Regions from separate parts of the Homo sapiens genome. Here all the other regions are linked to region 3. The links are contacts of gene promoters, found by promoter capture Hi-C in blood cells and fetal thymus (Javierre and others, 2016). All regions are on one chromosome and are shown on one strand. Each heading gives the region's core, a stretch centred on a gene start or on the middle of the fragment in contact. The rest is flanking DNA. Distances are from core to core; before and after follow the strand shown.

Region 1 (2,825 bases), core at 326-2,825, 100 kb before region 3:
CTACTCCAACCCAAACAACAACCAAGCCAGTTTAATGGTAGGAATTTGTATTTTTTGCCTTTGTTCAGAATACATGACATTGGTAAATATGCCACATGCCTTTGGTGGAAGTACAACTGTTGTTATTACTCTATACAAGTATGAGATCAGGGTTAGGAAAAAAAGACAAAGAGGTGATGACAGACACACAGTGGAAACCCCACATCGTCTCATGGCAAACCGAAGAACGGGATGTGGGAAGCTCAGCTTCATTTGACTGCAAAGTCCCAGGGTTTTGTTGCACATTTGCTCATGCACATGGGTGGTGGGAGGAAAGGGGGATAGCAGAGACACACAGAAGAGGGTACAGGGTGGGTGAGAAAGAAAGTAGAAGGGCTAATACCCCCAAAGAACAAGGCCAACTACACCTGGTGAGCCTCAGAGGGACAGAAACCCAGGAATGATTCCTGTGATAGGGCTGGGAGAGCCAAGAGGACGGATTCGCTCCAGGCTTGGGACACATCGAGGACAGTGGTGGTTCTTCTCCAGCGGTGACCCCCTGCATTAGGCAAGGAGGAGCCCAGAGGAGAGTGGAGACCTTCGAGGGGGGCCGTTGGGAGGGTACTGACTGCTTTCTTCCAGCTCTTCAGTCCCGCCCTTGGGCAGGACGAAGGGAATGTGGGAAACAAGGGCGAAAGGAAAGGAAGGATGGTTTTGAGCAATGAAATGCTGCTGCATGGAAAGTGGGCATCCAGACCCTGCCCAGCATGGCCTCAGCCTCTTCCTGTTCGTGGACCGAGGGAAGAAGGAATAAAGGGCCATGGGCATTCTCCGCTCTGTTCCCAGCCTGCCCTCCTCCCCTTGCACCTGGGCTTATCCCACATTAATAGCCCATCCTGAAGCTCAGCAATTGCCCCGAAGATAGGCTGAGCAGATCCCATCCTCAGGTTCCACTGTCTATACACACAAACCATGCAAAGAGGAGGAAGAGAAAGGAGGCAAAGTAGAATTCAGACAGGAAAGGGTGGTTCAAAGGGGAATATACTACAGGAAGAACAGAGAGGCGGCTCTCAAGGAGAGGGCCCCATGACAGCACAGCAATACACAAGCACACCTGACACAGGCTGGCACGCCTCCCCCCAAGGTGGGGCTGGTGGGTCTACATGACTTCTCTGCATCCTGAGGATCGGCCGGGCCCCAGGAAGAACCACTTGCCTCATCCCTGTCTTTGGCAAGTGCACGGGTGGTGTGGAGGAAAGGATTCCATGGGTGTCCAAAGATCTCACACTGCTAACACCCTCACGCTCCTTCATCAACAGGAAGAGAGGAACAGGACCCTCTTTAACGAGGGCAAGGAGTGGCTTCCTCTGAGCTTGTTACTTTCAAATTAAGCACTTGACTCACTGTTTCTCTATAACTAACAGGCAATCTCTCTCTTTATGCCAACAATTAACTGGGAGCTAGGTTAAATTATTTGGCTAGATAAAACTACCAGCTAGATGGATTTATTTGGTGCCCTCATACAGAATGCTGTAGAAAATGTAAAGAAGAGAAAGCTCCTTCCAGCTAGAAGCACATGGGACTGCTTCTAGGATGGAAACAAGTCCTGCTATTTTCACAATCCCTAAGTGTTCTCCAGGCCTCTGGAGAACAAAGTAAAGTTGTAAGATCCCCAAAGACACGGAAAATCCTGGACGAACAGATTAGAAATAACTACAAAAAACAAGTTTTTACTTTCGAAAAGGGTACTGCACTGAAACCAAGTTGGACTTTGGTCCACCCCCAGGACCCTCTTCAGGCCTGGTCCAGGAAGGAAAGCTCCACATGACCAGGCAGTACTGAGTGAGCTGCCATCTTCCCAGCCCCTCCCTAGCTCCTACCAGTGGCCAGGTTTTCTAGAAGTCACCATGGGCACCGATACTCTTCTCCTCCCAAGTCTGGGCAGCTTCATGGGTACTTCGCCTCAGCCACTCCCCTCCCTGCCCCTTCCCTTGGCCTCCAACTCTTTGGGGCTTTGGGGGAACTTGAGAGTACAGAAAAAGCAGGCAGGGAGGAGGCGCCAGCTGTTGCTCTTCGGGTAATGACTTAGATTGTGCCACGAGCAGCATTTCTAGTGTTGAGGGACAGAGTGCAAATGAACGCAACGAAAAAGGAGGAATGGGTGATGGAGAAGCCTGGGCTGGAATGGAGGACGGTGGGTGGGGAAGTGTGTTGAGAGAGCAAACAGAGGGCAGAGGACATGAATGTGGATGGCAATGGACAACAGGGAAGGGGTGGTACATTCTCAAGTAAAAAAGTAGACTGGACACAGGAATCAGGAAGTCCCAGACGGAAAAGAGAAAGAGACAGGAGAAAACAAGAGGGTGAATTACACCAAGTTACCAGACATTCAGGTCTCTCCATTGTTAAGTGCCCCATCCCCATGGTCTCCCTCCAACCCAAGCCAGTGACACACAGCATAGCCCCACTTCCTCAGAACAGGAGGCGCCATCTCCCTGCAATGCGTTGCAGGGGGAAGGCTTGTCCATCAAAGAAATCCCTTGTCTCTGCCCTTCCCCCGTCCCGAACCAGGTGACGATCCCATAGCAGCGGTCTCCATACCTCAGTCAGAGCAGCCCCACTCCCCAGGCAGGCAGGCAGGCAGGGAGAAGACTCCAGGACCTTCCCACCTCTTCACCCCACCAGCAACTTCAGCGATACTTACTTACAATAACTACCACGATGATGGCACAGATGGCTCCCAGCATGATCATCATCTGAGGAAACATGGACAAAAAATGAGCCCTTGGATTTCAGGAATGAGGAAAAGAGCCACATCTCTAGTGGGAAACAGAATTCCTTCCATC
Region 2 (3,026 bases), core at 122-2,621, 120 kb before region 3:
GCAGCGCCCAGCTTGGAGGTGCTAACTCCAGAGGCCAGCATCAGCAACTGGGCACAGAAAGGAGCCGCCTGGGCAGGGACCATGGCACGGCCACATCCCTGGTGGCTGTGCGTTCTGGGGACCCTGGTGGGGCTCTCAGCTACTCCAGCCCCCAAGAGCTGCCCAGAGAGGCACTACTGGGCTCAGGGAAAGCTGTGCTGCCAGATGTGTGAGCCAGGTAAGAGGGGGCCTTGGTAAGGGCCAGGTGAGTGGCGAAAGAGAGAGGACTGGGGTTAATACAGTAAATAGGCGCAGGGTGAGACTGAGCTCAAGCAAGGAGGGAAATCCTGCAGCTGTGGGGAGGCACCACCTTGAAGAGGGCAGAGAACCAGCCCTTCTCAGGCCTTGATCCCTTACCCTCTCCTCCCAGGAACATTCCTCGTGAAGGACTGTGACCAGCATAGAAAGGCTGCTCAGTGTGATCCTTGCATACCGGGGGTCTCCTTCTCTCCTGACCACCACACCCGGCCCCACTGTGAGAGCTGTCGGCACTGTAACTCTGGTGAGGTGGGCAAGGGTGTGTAGGTGGGGACGATGGACAAGCATCTGGGGGAGCAAGGCTGGTGACGGGTTTGGGGGTGCAAGGAGGATGACGGGGCCAAAGCTTTGGCCTTCTTCAAGGCTCACAGCAAGTGGAGCCAATGCTGGGAAATGCGGCACCCTAGGTGGGGCATGAATTAACGTGGGCAGACATCTAGTATTCCAGGAAAGGGATAAATAGAATTTGAGGGATTGGTGAGAACGGGTCTATGGATAGGATCAAGACAATAAAATGAGAGAAGTGGCTCTATGACCCCAGATTTCGGGCAAGCAACCCCCAACCAATAAACTGACTGTGTTCCCAGAGTGCACATGTGCAGGTTGGCCATTGGGAATTTGGAATACATCTTTCTAAGGAAATAACAAAGCAACCCAATAGGTAACAACCTTTTTTTGCACAAAAGCCAATTTGAGAAAATGAGTATGTATGTAGCCTGTGTTTTTATTTTATAGTTCCAAAAAAAAAGGTTTTTTTTAAACTAAGAAGTATAATATCTGCAGTTGTGCTTATGAATGCTGTTATTATTTCTCCATCTTCGCTACAATTTCAGAAACTACGGCCAGTATACACTAGAATAGCAGGCTTTAAAGTGGCCCCTTTGAACAAATGTTCTCTAGCAAGACACTTTTTAGAACCAGGTAACTGTAACTATTAAACTACCTACTTGCAAAACGTGTTTGGTGTCACTGGGTCTCTTGGTACTGGGTTTTGTTTTGTTTAGTTTAGAGACAAGGTCTAGCTCTGTCACCCAGGCTGGAGTGCAGTGGTGCAATCATAGCTCCCCACAGCCTTGAACTCCTGGGCTCAAGCAATCTTCTAGTCTCAGCCTCTGAAAGTGCCAGGATTACAGGTGTGAGCTGTAGTGCCTGGTCCCGTAAAAACAAAAACAAAAACCAACACCAGATGTGGTGGCTCATGCCTATAATCCCAGCACTTGGGAGGCCAAGGCAGAAGGGTATTTGCATATTTTGTAGAGACTTGAGCCCAGGAGCTTGAGACCAGCTGGGCAACATAGTGAGACCTTGTCTCTAAAAAAATTGGCTGGTCATGGTAGTGCACCTGCAGTCCCAGCTACTTGGGAGGCTGAGATGGGAAGATCACTTGAGCCCAAGAGGTCCCCAAGAGGTCCAGGCTGCTCACATCACTGCACTCCAGCCTGGGTAACAGAGCAAAACCCTTTTTCACACACACACACACACACACACAAAAAGCCAGAGCAGTGGCTCACACTTGTAATCCCAGCACTTTAGGAGGCCAAGGCAGGCGGATCCCTTGAGCCCAGGAGTTTAAGAACACCCTGGGCAACATGGCAAAACCCTGTCTCTACTAAAAATACAAAAAGTTAGCCAGGCGTGGTGGCACGAACCTGTAGTCCCAGCTACTCAGAAGGCTGAAGTGAGAAGATCACTTGAGTCCAGGAAGTGGAGGCTGCAGTGAGCCGTGACTGTACCACTGCACTCCAGCTTGGGAGACAGAGTGAGCAGAGTGAGACCCTGTTTCCAAAAAAAAAAAGAAAACAAAAGCTTTTCCATTGCAAATCAACCAAAAAGGAACGTCTTTAATACACAAGAAATATTCTTCAGTCTACTTAACTTAAAAATGTAACTGTAATAGATGCTTTTCTCTTGACAGCGGCCCCGGCAGGGTTGGAACTTTTCCTAGTCAAAACCCCCCTACTCACTCTGCAGACCCTTCCTGAAGGTCTTCGCCCCATACTGAGCCCATCTTCAGTCCCTTCACTTGTTCCAAACTAGCCCAATCCATGACCCTTCTCTGGGAGCTCAGCCAATAGATCCCAAAGTACCACAGCAGCACCTGGCTGCAGAAGGACCCCCGGGAAATGCAGTCAGGGGTGAGAAGATGGGTGGGCTGAATGAGCTCGGCCCTCTCTGGGCCTTAGTGCTGGCATCTATGAGATGAGGACATGCCTGAAGTCAGCCTGGAATTTTGAGCCCAGGTTATACCTGGTAAATAGAACTCCCAGGTCTCCGGATACTCACCACTAAAACAATAGCACCTCATTGTTTTTGTTTTGTTTTGTTTTGTTTTTTAATTATACTTTAAGTTCTAGGGTACATGTACACAATGTGCAGGTTTGTTACATAGGTATACATGTGCCATGTTGGTGTGCTGCACCCATTAACTCATCATTTACATTAGGTATATCTCCTAATGCTATCCCTCCTCCCTCCCCACACCCCACGACAGGCCCCAGTGTGTGATGTTCCCCTTCCTGTGTCCAAGTGTTCTCATTGTTCAATTCCCACCTACGAGTGAGAACACATTGTTTTTAACCCTCCCCAGCAGCTTCTTTAACCCCTCCATTTCCCTTTTGGCGGAGACCCTTGTCATCACTCCTCTCTACCACCAGTGCTCTCCCCTCCTGCACTGTCCCAGGCTTCCTCATTCTTCCCTTGCAGGTCCTTATCCAACATGGCTCACAATT
Region 3 (2,750 bases), core at 99-2,598:
AGCCCTGTTATTATTTAATAACTGTATACAAGTTTCTTTTTTTTTTTTGAAATGGAGTTTCACTCTTGTCTTCCAGGCTGGAGTGCAATGGCGTGATCTCAACTCACTGCAACCTCCTTCTCCCAGATTCAAGCGATTCTATTGCCTCAGCCTCCCATCACCACACCCAGCTAATTGTTGTATTTTTAGTAAAGACAGGGTTTCACCATGTTGGCCAGGCTGGTCTCGAACACTGGACCTCAGGTGATCCACCTGCCTCGGCCTCCCAAAGTGTTTCCTTAATAGTGCCTCTCTCACAGGACTCTAAGATGATTAAGCGATATAACATGACCAACAAGTTTAATACAGTGCCCAGGACTTCCTACTATCTCAATAAACTGCATCCTTTATCCAATGCCCAACACAAACTCCCGGTCCAGTGTTACCTCCCACCAGTCTTCCACACAGTATACTACTACTCGGCATGAAGCAGCCAGATCCGTGCTTTTCCATTTCCACCCCTTCCAAAAGGCAAATCAGTGACTGACCCCTCCCCTTCACTACTTCCTCTTGCTACAATGTTACCCATTTTTCAAAACCCAGCTTAACAAAAACTTTTACAGTTCTGCATGGGCTCCCCCTTCCTCTGAACTCACAATTGTTTTAAATCACACTTTTCCCTTGCATGAATAATAGTTGTGTCCGTGTCTTCACATCTCTACGACCTAAACAGTTCCCTACAATCTAAACGGCTGTTTCATTCATACCTCCTAGTAACTCATACAGAGAAGATTCCACTTAAATATAAAATGAACAGAAACTAAAAAAGAGAAGAGGTTATAATACAGAATACTGCAAAAGCTGAGGGATCAGGAGGCCACAACTAATCCTTACCTGCAGGCAAGAATCTGACGAGTTCTGTCTCGGCACCCTTCTGCTTCCGGGCCTTTCGGCCTGGCCCCCGCTTCTCCTTCGTAGGGTCCAACTTGCGCCCCATGGTACTGTGGCAGGCAGAAATGGGAGAAGGTGGCGTCGCGCGTGTCGGAGGGAACGGCAGAACGCACGCTTGGCGTATTATAGTGGGAAAGGGCACAGCCTCAACTCAGCACCCGCAACTCACTCAGCACTCCCGACTCAGCACCCGCGACTCAAGCACCCCCGCTATCCCCCTGGAGGCCCGACCGAACGCCCTCCCACCTGAAACCCAGGTAGCGCACCCTTCTCCCCACGTCCCAGACCAGGTCAGTGCTGCCACTCTTCGTCCCCCAATTTCCTCTAGACCCACCAGAATGCGGGTTAATGTCCGAGAGTGCCCTTCGGGCGGCCCTCCACGTGCAATCCGGACCTAGCTTTCGGCCGGCACTCGCCACAGAATCGTTCCACGCAGGCGCACGGGTAGCGCTAGCCTCGCGGCCCCGCCTCTTCCTGTTGCGCCTAGTCGGCCGCCGCACCCGGAACTTACGCTCGCCCTGGGAACGCCAGCGGAGCCGGCGGCGGCGAGTAGGGGGCAATTCGAAGGAGACGCGCAGCTTACACCCGCGGCGGGTGGAGGGAGCAATGTGACGAAACCATTGAGCTTGACCGACCTTCCCTCATGGAGTTGGCTTTTAGCCTCACGGCCGGTTTCTGTTGGGTGAAAGCCGCACCTTCTCCTCGAACCAGGGCCCGACATTGGAGCCCTCTCCCTCGCATCCACTGCCCTAGTCCAGCGTCAAGATCACGGAATTCCAGGCTGGGCGCAGTGGCTCACGCCTGTAATCCCAGCACTTTGGGAGGCTGAGGTGGGTGGATCACTTGAGGTCAGGAGTTCGAGACCAGCCTGGCCAATATGGTGAAACCCTGCTTCTACTAAAAATACAAAATTAGCCGGGCGTGGTGGCGGGCGCCTATAATCCCAGCTACTCGAGAGGCTGAGGCAGAATTGCTTGAGCCCGGGAGGCGGAGGTTGCAGTAAGCCGAGATCGTGCCACTTAAGCCTCACCAAGAGCGAAACTCCACCTCAAAAAAAAAAAACAAAAAAACCAGCCGGGCTCGGTGGCTCACGCCTGTAATCCCAGCACTTTGGGAGGTCGAGGCGGGCGGATCACGAGGTCAAGAAATCCGAGACCATCTTGGCCAACCTTGTCTCTATTAAAAATACAAAAATTAGTTGGGCATGGTGGCTGGCGCACGCGTGTAGTCCCAGCTACTCGGGAGGCTGAGGCAGGAGAATCGCTTGAACCCGGGAGGGGGAGGTTGCAGTGAGCTGAGATCGCGCCACTGTACTCCAGCCTGGCAACAAAGCGAGACTCCATCTCAAAACAAACAAACAAAAAAAACCGTGGAATTCCATGCCACTTACCTCCTCCTCTTTGCCCCTTTTTTAAAAATCTTTTTATAGAGACGGGTTGTAGGGGGTGGCGTCTCACTATATTGCCAGGGCTGGTCTAGAACTCCTGGGCTTAAGCGATCCTCCTGCCCCCACCTTTGTGCTGAGATTACAGGCTGTGAGCCACCGTGCCCCGCCCTCCCAGCACCTTCCTTGATGCTGACCCCTGCTCAGCCCCTCAATTAAGGTGCTGCACTGCACCTCATTCGCAGGGGGCCTCTTCGCCGGAACTCGCTTTCAGGTGGGTCTACAATTAGTTGGGAAACAACGGGTTGCAAGGCTGACCTGGTCTGGGACATGAGAAGGGGTGAACTACAAGGGTTTCAAGGTTGGAGGACGTTAGGTCGGGCCTCCGGGGGTGTGGGATTGAGGCTGTGTTCTTCCACAAATTGCATCCCAATTT
Region 4 (2,837 bases), core at 265-2,764, 88 kb before region 3:
AAACTTACTATTTGAAGACAATGACAACAAATTGGAGGTGGCTGAACTAAATGGGGTAACTCGGCTGCTCCAGGTGCTGAAGCAAACCAGAGTCTTGGAGACTAAAAAACAACTAACAGGTTTGCTGTGGAATTTGTCATCTAATGACAAACTCAAGAATCTCATGATAACAGAAGCATTGCTTATGCTGACCGAGAATATAATCATCTCCTTTTCTGGATGGCCTGAAGGAGACTACCCAAAAGCGAATGGTTTGCTCGATTTTGACACAGTCTACAACCCACTGGATGTCTAAGAAACATGAGTGCTGCTGGCCCTGATAGGAGAAAAGCAATGAGAAGATGTGACCGACTCATTGACTCACTGGTCCATTATGTCAGAGGAACCATTGCGGATTACCAGCCAGATGACAAGGCCACGGAGAATTGTGTGCACATTCTTCATAACCTCTCCTACCAGCTGGAGGTAGAGCTCCCAGAGAAATATTCCCAGAATATCTATATTCAAAACCCAAATGTCCAGACTAACAACAAAAGTATTGGATGTTTTGGCAGTCGAAGCAGGAAACTAAAAGAGCAATACTAGGACATGCCGATGCCAGAGGAAAAGAGCAACCCCAAGGGCGTGGAGTGGCTGTGACACTCCATTGTGATAAGGATGTATCTGTCCTTGATCGCCAAGAGTGTCCCAAACTACACACAGGAAGCCTCCTTAGGCGCTCTCCAGAACCTCACAGCCGGAAGTGGACCAATGCCGACATCAGTGGCTCAGACAGTCGTCCAGAAGGAAAATGGCCTGCAGCACACCCGAAAGATGGTGCATGTCAGTGACCCAAGTGTGAAAAAGACAGCCAACTTGCTGCTGAGGAATCTGTCCCAGAATCTTTCTCTGCAGAATAAAATTGCCAAAGAAACTCTCCCCAGTTTGGTCTCCATCATTCCTGATACAGTCCCGAGTACTGACCTTCTCATTGAAACTACAGCCTCTGCCTGTTACATGTTGAACAACGTAATCCAAAACAGTTACCAGAATGCACAGCGCCTTCCGAATACCGGGGGCATCCAGAAAATTATGACCATCAGTGCAGGCGATGCCTATGCCTCCAACAAAGCAAGTAAAGCTGCTTCCATCCTCCTGTATTCTCTGTAGGCACACACGGAACTCCATCATGCCTACAAGAAGGCTCAGTTTAAGAAGACAGATTTTGTCAACAGCTGGACTGTCAAAGCCTACCACTCCCTTAAAGACTGAGGAAAATGACGAAGTATTCTCAGCTGCAAAAAAATCCCACAGGAAAACACCTATTTTTCTACTACCCAGCCCAAGAAACCTCAAAAGCATGCCTCGTTTCTATCATTTTCTATTTCCATGGTCCCCCGAATCCAGAAAACAAGTACAACATAATCTTATGAGTCTTCCAGAAGACTTTTGCAAGCTTGCCACCAGTAGATACTGGTCACAGGCTCTACAAATAGTGGTCTTTGTTATTAGGGCTTATGGTGCATGGCCTCCTGGAACCAAAATGTGAATTCATGTGGAATGGACTTTGATCCAATAAATAAGGAAAGAAGTTGTTGCATTACTGGGATTTTAAAAGCTTGATTTACATTTATATTCCTTTTCTAGTTCCCATGTTTTGTCACTCATGTGCACATTGCTTCACCATTGGGCCATGAGTATATTGTTCTGTAGTGTTGAAACAGAATGGAAATGACAAGAAATATCTGCAGTTATCCAGGAGAAAGTATAATGGCAAAATTATTTGTTTCTTTGTTTACTTTGTGCTCGTTTTTATCTCCTTAGGTTTTTTTCCTCTGATTTTTAAATAAACTTAAGAAATTTAGATTACAGAGTATGCATGACTGTAAGAAAAAGAAATTGAGAGGAAGTGATCATAGCAAATTAAAGAAACCTTTTTCTCCCAAAACTTAAAGTAAAATAAATAAAAATAAAAATAAATCTTTTCCCCAGAGAAAGGCAACTGTGATTATAAAGTTTAACCTTCCCCCAAACACTGAATGAATGAGATTTTTGCTCCGGAAATACTTTACCTATAACAACACCATTAAATCCAAATCTCTTCTAAACAATGGCATTCCGTGTAATGCCTTTCCTGGACATTTTTTTTTTTTTTTTTTTTTAGACGGAGCTCAGGCTGGAGTGCAGTGGTGCAATCTTGGCTCACTGCAACCTCCGCCTCCCTGGTTCAAGTGATTCTCCTGCCTCAGCCTCCTGAGTAGCTGGGATTACAGGCGTGCACCACCACGCCTGGCTAATTTTTTTGTATTTTTAGTAGAGACAGGGTTTCACCATGTTGGTCAGGCTGGTCTTGAACTCCTGACCTCATGATCCGCCCGGCTCAGCCTCCCAAAGTGCTGGGATTATAGGTGTGAGCCACCGCACCGGGCCTTCTGTATTTTTTAGGCCACTGCCCTGGACTAGTGGAAGAATGGACTCTAGTCTTTATCTGCAAGAGGAACTAAGGCCTTCTATCAGACTGCCCGGCCAGCCTGGGGCACTGAAAATACAGCTCATTTTAATGAGTTACATTATCAACCAGCTTTGCCCAGCATTTAAGAAATATCACAGGGCCACTAAATCTCATATGATCTTCTTCAAGCCATTATTTTAATTCAAGAAAACTCTAGAGAAAAAAGTGAAGAAGTCATGTTGAAGAAGATATAAGAATGTGTCAAGACCATACAGAAATGATATGAGAAATACTGGTGTTTTAAAAGGTGACATCATCCAGTGAAATGAATCTATATTAAATGTTATTTTAACTGCATTATGATTAAAACCATTCATATAGAGTTAGTCTTCACAACTACTATTCT

What was found. Contacts are between HindIII fragments. The CHiCAGO score rates a contact against its expected background, and 5 or more counts as called.
Region 1: a fragment that was not itself captured here is called in contact with the fragment with the promoter of NOP2 in region 3 in 8 of 17 cell types (total CD8 T cells, naive CD4 T cells, activated CD4 T cells and 5 more); the score reaches 9.5 in total CD8 T cells.
Region 2: a fragment that was not itself captured here is called in contact with the fragment with the promoter of NOP2 in region 3 in 8 of 17 cell types (activated CD4 T cells, total CD8 T cells, naive CD8 T cells and 5 more); the score reaches 7.4 in activated CD4 T cells.
Region 4: a contact is called between a fragment that was not itself captured here and the fragment with the promoter of NOP2 in region 3, in 9 of 17 cell types (activated CD4 T cells, total CD8 T cells, non-activated CD4 T cells and 6 more). The highest score is 11.0, in activated CD4 T cells.

Annotation. Positions count from the first base shown.
Region 1 is chr12:6,462,207-6,465,031 of GRCh38, forward strand. VAMP1 (vesicle associated membrane protein 1) reads right to left here. Exons shown (of 5, transcript NM_014231.5): 4 at 2,684-2,735; 5 at 31-2,280. The coding sequence ends at 2,264. TAPBPL (TAP binding protein like) reads left to right here. Exons shown (of 7, transcript NM_018009.5): 7 at 1-110. Among named protein-coding and RNA genes, the nearest start is that of VAMP1, 7.1 kb to the right of the region's middle. The HindIII fragment of the contact is 4,495 bases long and covers 1-2,825 here.
Region 2 is chr12:6,445,015-6,448,040 of GRCh38, forward strand. CD27 (CD27 molecule) reads left to right here. Exons shown (of 6, transcript NM_001242.5): 1 at 1-217; 2 at 410-541. The coding sequence starts at 82. It overlaps CD27-AS1 (CD27 antisense RNA 1), which reads right to left. Exons shown (of 6, transcript NR_015382.2): 3 at 3,023-3,026; 4 at 1,947-2,073. Among named protein-coding and RNA genes, the nearest start is that of CD27, 1.6 kb to the left of the region's middle. RefSeq lists enhancers at 77-578, 123-182, 213-392, 1,102-1,221. The HindIII fragment of the contact is 1,460 bases long and covers 642-2,101 here.
Region 3 is chr12:6,566,943-6,569,692 of GRCh38, forward strand. NOP2 (NOP2 nucleolar protein) reads right to left here and starts at 1,349. Exons shown (of 16, transcript NM_001258308.2): 1 at 1,265-1,349; 2 at 874-980. The coding sequence starts at 976. CHD4-AS1 (CHD4 antisense RNA 1) reads left to right here and starts at 1,429. Exons shown (of 3, transcript NR_199067.1): 1 at 1,429-2,588. RefSeq lists enhancers at 1,199-1,820, 1,644-1,693. The HindIII fragment of the contact is 18,468 bases long and covers 1-2,750 here.
Region 4 is chr12:6,478,960-6,481,796 of GRCh38, forward strand. It overlaps the pseudogene PKP2P1. Among named protein-coding and RNA genes, the nearest start is that of VAMP1, 9.7 kb to the left of the region's middle. The HindIII fragment of the contact is 162 bases long and covers 1,434-1,595 here.